Regions from separate parts of the Homo sapiens genome. Here region 2 is linked to region 1. The links are contacts of gene promoters, found by promoter capture Hi-C in blood cells and fetal thymus (Javierre and others, 2016). All regions are on one chromosome and are shown on one strand. Each heading gives the region's core, a stretch centred on a gene start or on the middle of the fragment in contact. The rest is flanking DNA. Distances are from core to core; before and after follow the strand shown.

Region 1 (5,093 bases), core at 1,241-3,740:
TGATTGCTGTAGAGATGGCAGTTTTCTGACCCCAGGGTCCAGTGCTCCTCAGCCTTGAGCTTCTTCCAGATCAGATACGTCTTCTGGTTGCTGGCTTTAGTGGACACCAGGGGGCAGTGTGTTGCTAGGCTGCAGGCCACACCCAGTCCAGGACAATGTAGGATGAGGGCAAGGGACATGGAGAGGGGTGGTGAACCTAGTAAAGGAAGCCCCCACTGCTTTCTCCCTCAATTGTGAGGGCCTTAGGAATGGATTCCTGTTGCTCAGTCAGGGTTCCTCTTCCCAGGCCCTGTGAGTAAACTGAAGCATGAAGAAGAGGAATAGTCAGGGCTCCTGGGCAGCCTCCTGCTCCTCTTGCAGGAGTCACAAGCAGAGATTCCTCCCTTGCCCCTTCCCCCACACCTCCCCAGTTGCAGGCCCCCAGCTGCTGTCCAGACCGGAAGGGAGTCTCTTCCTGCTTGTTTCCTGGAGCCGAGTTTGGATATAGGCAGGAAAGGCCCGCCTGGGAGGAAAGAATATAGGGGTGTGACCTTCATGGAGGCAGGGAGCAGGGGGGCAGGTGAAATGAACAGAACAATGGGCCATCCAGATTTTTCCAGTTCTACTACCCAGGGCTGAGGGCCTGTGGCAGTGGCAGGGAAGGACACAGGTTCCACTGAAATGGGGAGAAGGACATTGTACAAAAAAAAAGTTTTATTTTGAAGATTACAGAACTTGTGCCATGACCCCACCTGGCTTCCATTCCCAGCAATCCAGGGATCTGTGGTGGGGATGAGAGTGAGAAAAGGGAGTAGGAGGGGAGGAGGGAGGCCTGGTGGGGGTGGGGAAGTGGAGTAACATGGTTGTTGAGAAGCTCGTGGCCCCCTAGGCCTGGGCCTCACTGTCTTTACTCCTCCATACTACAAGAGTGATGAGGAAGGGGATGAGGCAGATGGGGGCTATGATCATGGCCAGGAGTACATCCTCTGGGGGGTCAGAGAAGGTGGGCTGCACCAGGGAGCAGTTGGCAAAGTGGATCTGGTGAGTCTCAAAGATGATCCTCTCTGCCAAGGGATTGGGGAAGCCCAGGTCAAACAACTCTGCAAAGTGCTCCAGGCAATCTCGCAGGGTGCTATAAGGCCTAGGGGCAGAAGAGGACTTGAGTGAGAGAGGGGGTGGACCCAGGGAGAAGAGTGCCCCACTCTCACTCAGGGTCTACCTGCAATGAGCAGGTCCACCCCCTGGCCTGAGCCACCCTCCATCACTGCCCCTACCTGCTAATCATGGCCCAGTCGCACCAATCCTTTTCGATAGGATCCATTTGATCCTTATAATGATTCCAGCAAAATTGGACAGCTGTCTCATAGTTCTTCACCGTCCCCCCTGTAGGTACAGATGCTACACAATGACCACACCCCTACCCCTCCCTACAAACCCTCCTGCCCAGGTGCTTGCAAGGTGAACTGCCTGTCTTCAAACGTGGGAACCCTTCAGAAAGTTTCCCTAGCAAAACATTCTGGCTGAGGACAGAGTCCCAGCTCAGGAATCCTATAATGACTTCCATGTGCTAAGCACTTTCCATCCCAGCCTGATAAGAACTTCCACGTACACCTTTTCCTGGGGTCTTCTCGCCCACTTGTGAGGTGGGCAGCTCAGAGCCGTGCAGGGGCTTTGTAGGAGGACAGGGAGAAAGACCACGAGGAACCCCAAGAAAGAACAGAGGGGAGTGTAGTGGGGCATCAGCTGGGGTTGGGCAGGCCTCGTGGGAAAGGAACCCTCCCCACTGAACTTGCTCTCGTCCTTACCCTCGGCCACCCTTCCACACCCTGGGTACCCACCTTCTGACCCTGGTGTGCCTGTGGTGGGAAGAGGCTGAGCCAGGGCCTCGTGGGGATTCAGGACAGCTGTGGGAAGAAACGGGAGAGGAGGGTAACATAGCGGGGACCCCGGCAGTGGAGCCTGCGAGGGGGGTTGGGGGACTGAGACCCTCCGAAAATAGGCTACCTTGGAAGAAAAGGAGGAATAATCTAGCCCCCACGGACGCCTCAGTGCCGGGGAGGGAGGGGCTGGCACCAGCTCCTTGTCACTCACACCCAGGCCCAAAGCCCCCTCATCTCTGGCCAGCTTCCGTCCTCCTAAGCCCTCTTCGAGGGGCCGGGGCCAGCACCCCAGCTTTCCCTGGGTGGGAAGCAGCTCATGCTGCGCCCGCCCCGAGGTGGGGTCAGGGACCGTCCGAGGGCCAGTGCTGCTAGGTACGTCGGTCCTAACCCGCACCCCAGGGCCCGTTCCGGCCTCGGCCATCCAGCCCCTCTCCCCTCTCCCCTCTCCCCTCCGGGGCCTCTCGCGCCTCCCGCCCGGGCCTCGGGGCGCCGCGCTCACCGCCCAGCAGGAGGAGGAGGCGGAGCGCTGCCGGCCGCCCGACTCGGGTCCTAGGGAGACGCGGGCCGCCGGCGCGCTCCACCCGGAGCGAGGCCATCGTGCAGCAAGGAGGCGAGGAGCGGCGGCGGCGCTGAGCCGGGCCCGGGTGTGGGGGCGCCTATATCCCCAGCCCAAGCTGCAGGAAGCCGCGCCGCTTCCTCGGAGGGGCTGGGACGGCGGCGGCCACGTGGGGGGCGGGGGCGACGCTCGGGGCCCGCGGCTGGAGGGGGAGTCGCTGCCTCACCCGCGCCTGGCGCCCGCGGCTCCCTCCGCCTCGCCGGCGTTGGCCCACCCTCTCGTAGCTCACCCCGCGAGGCTGGACAGCTCCCGGAACCCCGGAACCGGGATCTATTTCGGGGGCTCGGCTGCGTGGCGCCCAGGACTCTCCAGGGTCTCCCAGGATCGCTCCCCGAATTCGAGTCGCCCCCTCTCTCTTTCGGGTCTGGAGGGGTCGGCAAGCTGCTCTCCCAGACGTGGAGAAGAGGGAGGGGGCTGGGAGCTCCAGCGGCCTCTCGACGCCGCTGCTTCTAAGGGGCTGTCCTGGGTTGTGGGGGAAGGGGCGCCTGGAGCTGAGCCATGCAGCTCAGGGTTCCTTATCCTATCCCTAGGAATACCAGCTGATGTCAGTCCGCCAGCCAAAACCAGGGAGGAGAAGCGGGAGCCAGCCCTCTGGAGTCGGGAGAAGGTCTGGGGAGTGGGGTAGAGGGGAAAGCAAAGTCCAAATACCTTCCCTTCAGACACCTCCTGGGGCCTAGACCCCACAAACCTGTTGTGGGGAGGGCAAAATACGATGACTACGTTCCCAGGAAGAAGGTGCCACAGCTCTTCAGGACCACGGTTGGGAGAAAGAATGGAGGGGTTTTAGAACCTTCAGTGTGCGACTTCATGTGCCAGGTGAGTGTAACACCATTTTACAGACCGAGAAGCTAAAGCTCAGGGCCAACAGCCCGGGATTTGAATTCAGAAGCTCTGGGTTCTAATTCTGTCTTCTTACTCCCCAGCTATAGAGCCTTGAATGACACGTTTACCTTCAGGACTTCTCATGTGAAATAGGGACATTCCCCTCCTCACTGTATGATGGCAGCTGTGAAAGGGCACTGCACTCGCTAAATGCTAGTTTCCTTTCCTCTTTTCCTAAGTGACTTATCTAAGGTCACACTGTTAAGGAAGCAGCAAGGCTGAGTCTGGGCCTCCGGGGGTCCTGACTTCAGCCACACCACAGCTGCTTCTTGTGTCCTGGGCCAGAGGTTCATTAGTCTGAAGCAGCTGAGGAGCCCAGGAGCTGGTTTGGCCATGACGTTCAAGTCCCAGACACAGCTGTCAGCACCAAACTTTCCTAAATTACTCCCAGACACTGACCCTTGGACTCAGCTGCTGCTGTTGTCCCAGTTTACTGATTCCTGCCCACCACAAATTATCTGTCCTGATCTCTCCTGAAGTCTTCATCTCAGGATCTCAAGCTCTTGGATCATGGGCACGGATAACCTGTTGTCCTCCTCTATGGTCAAGAGGCTGCTTTTGCAAAGAATCCAGTGGGAGAGAGTCAATGGCCTGCTTGACGTGAACTCCAAAGTCCTCCTGGTAAGGATCATTTCTACAATGATGCAGAAAAGAGCCATGCAGTCTCTGAGACATTTCAGGCTGGGACCAAATCTAGTCCTTCCTGCCTGCCTAGGATTGCTCCTTTCAAGAAGGAAGCATGGGAGATTTCTGAGTGATAAGATGGGAGGAAGGAGCAAGGAGGTGCAGAAAGCAAAACAAGCCATTTTCACTGGGTTGGGGCCAGAAGCACATGAGCCCACTATGGGTTAGGACTGGGGTTGGGGTCAAGATTAAAGGGGACAAAAGCAAATGTTAGATTTAAAATAGAGCCTGGGCAACATAGTGAAACCCTGTCTCTACAAAAAAAAAACTATAAAAAAATTTTTAAAAAATTAGCCTGGCATAGTGGTGTGCACCTGTAGTCCCAGCTACTCGGGAGGCTGAGGCAGGAGGATCACTTGAGCCCCAGAGGTTGAGGCTGCAGAGAGCTGTGATTGTGCCCTATCTCAAAAAAAAAAAAAAAGGACAATATGGCATAATGATAATGGATAATCATAACGGATGAAAGAAAAAAACTGATGAGGATTCTGAAGGTAGGTTCTGCCTCTGTCTTACTGCAAGTAACTTGAGCAGGTTATTTCACATCTCTGGAGCTCAAGATTTTCATATGTAAAATGGCCTTAAGATCAAAAAAGAAAATATAGGTAACTTGGTAGGAAGTTCCTATTTTATTTTTATCTTACTTTACTTTTTAGGAACAGGGGCTCACTCTGTTGCCCACATTGGAGTGCGGTGGAAGAATCATGGCATGCTGCAGTCTTGAGCTTCTAGGCTCAAGAGATCCTCCTGGTTCAGTCTCCCAAGTAGCTAGGACAGCAGGCATATTTTTTGTAGATATGGGGGTCTTGCTTTTTTGCCGAGGCTGGTCTCGAACTCCTGGCTTCAAGCAATCTTCCTGCATCAGTCTCTTAAAGTGTTGGGATTCCAGGCATGAACCACTGCACCTGGCCCTTGGGAAGTTTTATTTTTAGCCTAGGGTTGGGGTTAAGTTTGCATCATGATGTTGAGACCTCCAAAGGAGAACTTATTGTAGTCATTCCTGAGCTCAGGTGTCCAAACTGTCTAATTGGAGAATCTGGGAATTTTCTCTCGTT
Region 2 (5,013 bases), core at 2,059-4,558, 160 kb after region 1:
AATTGGAAACTTTTGGCTGGGCGCAGTGGCTCATGCCTATAATTCTCAGCACTTTGGGAGGCCGAGGCAGGCAGGTCACCTAAGGTCGGGAATTCAAGACCAGCCTGACCAACAATGGAGAAACCCCATCTCTACTAAAAATGCCAAATCAGCCGGGCATGGTGGCGCATGCCTGTAATCCCAGCTACCTTGGGAGGCTGAGGCAGGAGAATCCGTTGAACCTGGGAGGCAGAGGTTGTGGTGACCCGAGATCGCGCCACTGCACTCCAGCCTGGGCAACAAGAGCAAGACTCCGTCTCAAAAAAAAAAAAAAAAAAAAAGTTGGAACCTTCTTAGTTTATTTTTCGTTTATTTTTCTTTTCTTTTTTTTTTTTGAGAGAGTCTCGCTCTGTCTGTTGCCCAGGCTGGAGTGCAGTGGCGCGATCTCGGCTCACTGCAAGCTCCGCCTCTCAGGTTCACGCCATTCTCCTGCCTCAGCCTCCCGAGTAGCTGGGACTCCAGGCGCCCACCACCACTCCCGGCTAATTTTTTGTATTTTTTAGTAGAGCCAGGGTTTCACCGTGTTAGCCAGGATGGTCTCGATCTCCTGATCTCGTGATCTGCCTGCCTCAGCCTCCCAAAGTGTTGGGATTACAGGCTTGAGCCACCGTCTTAGTTTATTTTATTTTATTTGAGATGGAGTCTTCCTGTGTTGCCCAGGCTGGAGTGCAGTGGCACAATCTCAGCTCACTGCAACCTCCGCCTCCCGGATTCAAGCAGTTCTCCTGCCTCAGCCTCCTGAGTAGCTGGGATTACGGGCACCCGCCACCATGCCTAGCTAATTTTTGTATTTTTAGGTAGAGATGGGGTTTCACCATGTTGGCCAGGCTGGTCTTGAACTCCTGATGTCAAGTGATCTACCTGCTTCAGCCTCCCAAAGTGCTGGAATTACAGGTTTGAGCCACTGCGCCTGGCCCATTCATTGTTTTTTTTGAGAGAAGGTTTCACTCTGTCACCCAGGCTAGATTGCAGTGGTGTGATCATGGCTCACTGTACCCTGGAACTCCTGAGCTCAAGTGATCATTCCACCTCATGGCTGATGAGACCACAGGAGTTCATCACCACATCAGGCTAATTGTCTATGTATTATGTGAAAAAGTTTTAAAACCATAGTGTTTTTATATGTGAATTTTTTAATGAAGAGAATAGCCTGTCTTCACACTTTTTAGAGTACATATGTGGATAATGGATCATTTTAAAAATATTTTATTATGGAAAGCTTAAAACATGTGTAAGTAGGCAGAATAATATTGTGTGCCACCATGTACATAATATTATTTTTTTCAATTCCTGGCCAATTTTGTGTCTTCCATACCCCAGTTCTTTTCTACGTCTTCCTTATTGTTTGACACAAATTATTGATGTGTCATATCATTTAATCTAGGTATTTCAGTATATTTTTCTGAAAAAGAGACTTTAAGAAACATCTGCCATCATTATCACATGCAAAAAATTAATGATTCTAGTCAGTGTTCACATTTCCAATTTTCTTATAAATGTCATAAATGATACTTTTTTTTTTCTTTTCGAGACAGGGTCTTGCTCTGTCTCCCAAGCTGGAGTGCAGTGGCACAATCAGAGCTCACTGCAACCTCAACCTTCTGGCTCTAGCAATCCTCCCACCTCAGCTTCCCAAGTAAATGGGAGTACAAGCGTGCACCACCACACCTAGCTAATGTTTTTCTTTTCAGTAGAGATGAGGTCTTGCTGTGTTGCCTAAGCTGGTCTCAAACTCTTTGACTCAAGTGATCCTCCTGCCTCGGCCTCCCAAAGTATTGGGATTACAGGCTTTAGGTACCACATGTGGCCTGTTGTGTGTGGTTTTATTTGTTGTTTTTTTTTTAAACTCTTTTTTTCCCCACAAACCAATTTGTTAGTGTTTAGGTGGTTTTTTCTGTTTTGCTTTTTTGTTTTTTGAGATAGGGTCTCGCTCTGTCACCCAGGCTGGGGTACAGTGGCACGATAACGGCTCGCTGCAACCTCAGTTTCCCGGACTCAAGCTGTCATCCCACCTCAGCCTGTTGAGTAGCTGGGATTACAGGTGCCCGCCACTATGCCCAGCTAATTTTTTGTATTTTTAGTAGAGACGGGGTTTCGCCATGTTGGCCAGGCTTGTCTCGAACTCCTGACCTCAGGTGATCCACCTGCCTTGGCTTCCCAAAGTGCTGGGATTACAGACGTGAGCCACCATGCCTGTACTTTTTTTTCGATAAACATGAATTCATGTTAGTTGTATAATTTTTTTTTTTTTTTTTTGAGACGGAGCCTTACTCTGTCACCCAGGCTGGAATGCAATGGCACAATCTCAGCTCACTGCAACCTCTGCCTCCTGGGTTCAAGCGATTGTCCTGCCTCAGCCTCCTGAGTAGCTGAGATTACAGGCATACACCACCACGCCCGGCTAATTTTGTATTTTTAATAGACATGGAGTTTCTCCATGTTAGCTAGGCTGGTCTCAAACTCCCGATCTCAGGTTATCCACCCACCTAAGGCTCCCAAAGTGCTGGGATTATAGGCATGAGCCACTGTGCCCAGCCAACAACCCTATTTCAATTTTTCCAGCCTACCACCTAAAGGATACTGTGACTATATGTAAGATTAAAGAATAAAAGCAGTTTAACAGAAATAAGCCTCTAGAGCTGCCTCAGGCCATTGATCTTCTCTCTAAAGCCAGTGCATCATCCCAACAAACAAGCACATTTAACAAGGCCAAGGAGAAGAGCTCTAGGGTTTCTTGCTCCCCAGTGCTGCTGCTTCCCTTCCCCAGCAGCAGCACATGGCATCGCTGTTTTCTCCAGAGTACTTGAAAGGGCTCTCTAGGGAGGCTTGCCAGACTGTTGGCAATTTCCCCTTCCCAGAGCACGATTACTAACACAAATAGAAACTAGGGTAGGGAAAGGATATTAAGCTCTCCTAAGAAGGTTGGTTTTCCAGAGATGATGGCAATAAAAACATATCCCTTATAATAAACTGGTAAACATTAAAAAAAAAAGACTGTTTTCTAAGACCTGGACTATTTAAATTGCTTGTTACAGCCCTTACCTTCCATTCTTATAAGCTATGCTTCAATTCAATTCAACATACCTTTGAGTACCTGTTACATGCCAAGGCCTTGTGGTAAGAAGCCCAGTTACAGAAAAAAATAAGACACAAACTTTACTCTCAAGTAAATTCATGTGTGTTTGTGTTCACGATATAACGTGACAGGTAATAATAACAAACAGGAAGATATCTAAGCTGTGATTTGCAAGATAAATGTTAAGGAAATGGGGCCGAAAGGTGTGGTAAGAGAGAGAAGACATTCAGATAGGGAAAACACCAATCTAGTAAGATACTTAAGGAATTGCAAGTAGTTTGATAAAACTGAAATATAAAAAACAAAGGGAGGGAATCAGTGTGGGGAGAGAGGCAGGATCCAGATCATGAAGGCCCTTTTATGACGGGGTAATGGGATTTCATCCTGCAGATGAAGATAAGCCAATAGTTTCATAAAGGGTATATTTTCTGGGTCTTGAAGGCTAAAATTGTGAGCATCTTCCATAACAAGATTAATCCTTGTCCATAAATCAATTTTAGTCCCAGATTTATCTTTTTTTGGAACAAGCCACAATAATAACTTCAGAGGAAGAGGCCGGGTGCGGTGGCTCACGTCTGTAATCCCAGCACTTTGGGAGGCTGAGGCGGGTGGATCATGAGGTCAGGAGATCGAGACAATCCTAGCTAACATGGTAAAACCCCGTCTCTACTAAAAATACAAAAAATTAGCCGGGCGTGGTGGCGGGCGCCTGTAGTCCCAGCTACTCGGGAGGCTGAGGCAGGAGAATGGCATGAACCCGAGAGATGGAGCTTGCAGTGAGCCGAGATCGCACCACTGTACTCCAGCCTGGGCAACAGAGCGAGACTCCGTCTCAAAAAAAAAAAAAAAAAAAAAAACTTCAGAGGAAGAAGAGTTTTCTTTGTGGTATAAAATAACGTTTCTTGGCCAGGCGCGGTGGCTTATGCCTGTAATCCCAACATTTTGGGAGGCTGAGGCGAGCTGATCACTTGAGATCAGGGATTCGAGACCAGCCTGGCCAACAAGACGAAACTCCGTCTCTACTAAAAATACAAAAATTAGCTGGGCGCAGTGGCGCACACCTTAACCCCAGCTACTCAGGAGGCTGAGGCAGGAGTATTACTTGAACCCTGGAGGCGGAGGTTGAAGTGAGTGGAGATCTGTGCCACTGCACTCTAGCCTGGGTGACAGAGTGAGACTCTGTCTCAAAAAAAAAAAAAAAAAAAAAAAAAAAATATATATATATATATATATATATATATATATATATATACACACAAAATATATATATACACAAAAATATATATACGAAATATATATATATATATATACACACACACACACACACACACACACAAAATAGATTCTGGCTGGGCGCGGTGGCTCATTCCTGTAATCCCAGCACTTTGGGATGCCGAGGTGGGTGGATCACAAGGTCAGGAGATCGAGATCATCCTGGCTAACATGGTGCAACCCCGTCTCTACTAAAAATACAAAAATTAGCTGGGCGTAGCGGTGCATGCCTGTAATCCCAGCTACTCAGGAGGCTGAGGCAGGAGAATTGCTTGAACCTGGGAGGCAGAGGTTGCAGTGAGCCAAGATCACGCCACTGCACTCTAGCCTGGCGACAGAGCTAAGACTCCGTCTCAAAAAAAAAAAAAAAGAAAAAATAGATTCTTCTGGCCAGGTACAGCGGCTCATGCCTCTAATCCCAGTACTTTGGGAGGTCGAAGCGGGCGGATCACTTGAGATCAGGAGTTTGAGACCAGCCTAGCCAACATGGTGAAACCTTGTCTCTATTTAAAAAATTTAAAAATTAGCTGGGCATGGTGAGGGCACCTGTAATCTCAGTTACTTGGGAGACTAGGACAGGAGAATTGCTTGAACCCAGGAGGCAGAGGTTGCAGTGAGCCAAGATG

The links. Contacts are between HindIII fragments. The CHiCAGO score rates a contact against its expected background, and 5 or more counts as called.
Region 2: a fragment that was not itself captured here is called in contact with the fragment with the promoter of RAMP2 in region 1 in 1 of 17 cell types (erythroblasts); the score reaches 6.1 in erythroblasts.

What each region holds. Positions count from the first base shown.
Region 1 is chr17:42,758,624-42,763,716 of GRCh38, reverse strand. RAMP2 (receptor activity modifying protein 2) reads right to left here and starts at 2,490. Exons shown (of 4, transcript NM_005854.3): 1 at 2,359-2,490; 2 at 1,818-1,883; 3 at 1,254-1,362; 4 at 676-1,120. The coding sequence starts at 2,455. The coding sequence ends at 865. It overlaps RAMP2-AS1 (RAMP2 antisense RNA 1), which reads left to right and starts at 2,460. Exons shown (of 6, transcript NR_024462.1): 1 at 2,460-2,837; 2 at 3,006-3,082; 3 at 3,204-3,291; 4 at 3,837-3,978. RefSeq lists a silencer at 2,287-2,376. The HindIII fragment of the contact is 18,952 bases long and covers 1-5,093 here.
Region 2 is chr17:42,596,936-42,601,948 of GRCh38, reverse strand. All of the region lies in intron 1 of RETREG3 (reticulophagy regulator family member 3), which reads left to right. Among named protein-coding and RNA genes, the nearest start is that of RETREG3, 9.9 kb to the left of the region's middle. The HindIII fragment of the contact is 4,096 bases long and covers 1,261-5,013 here.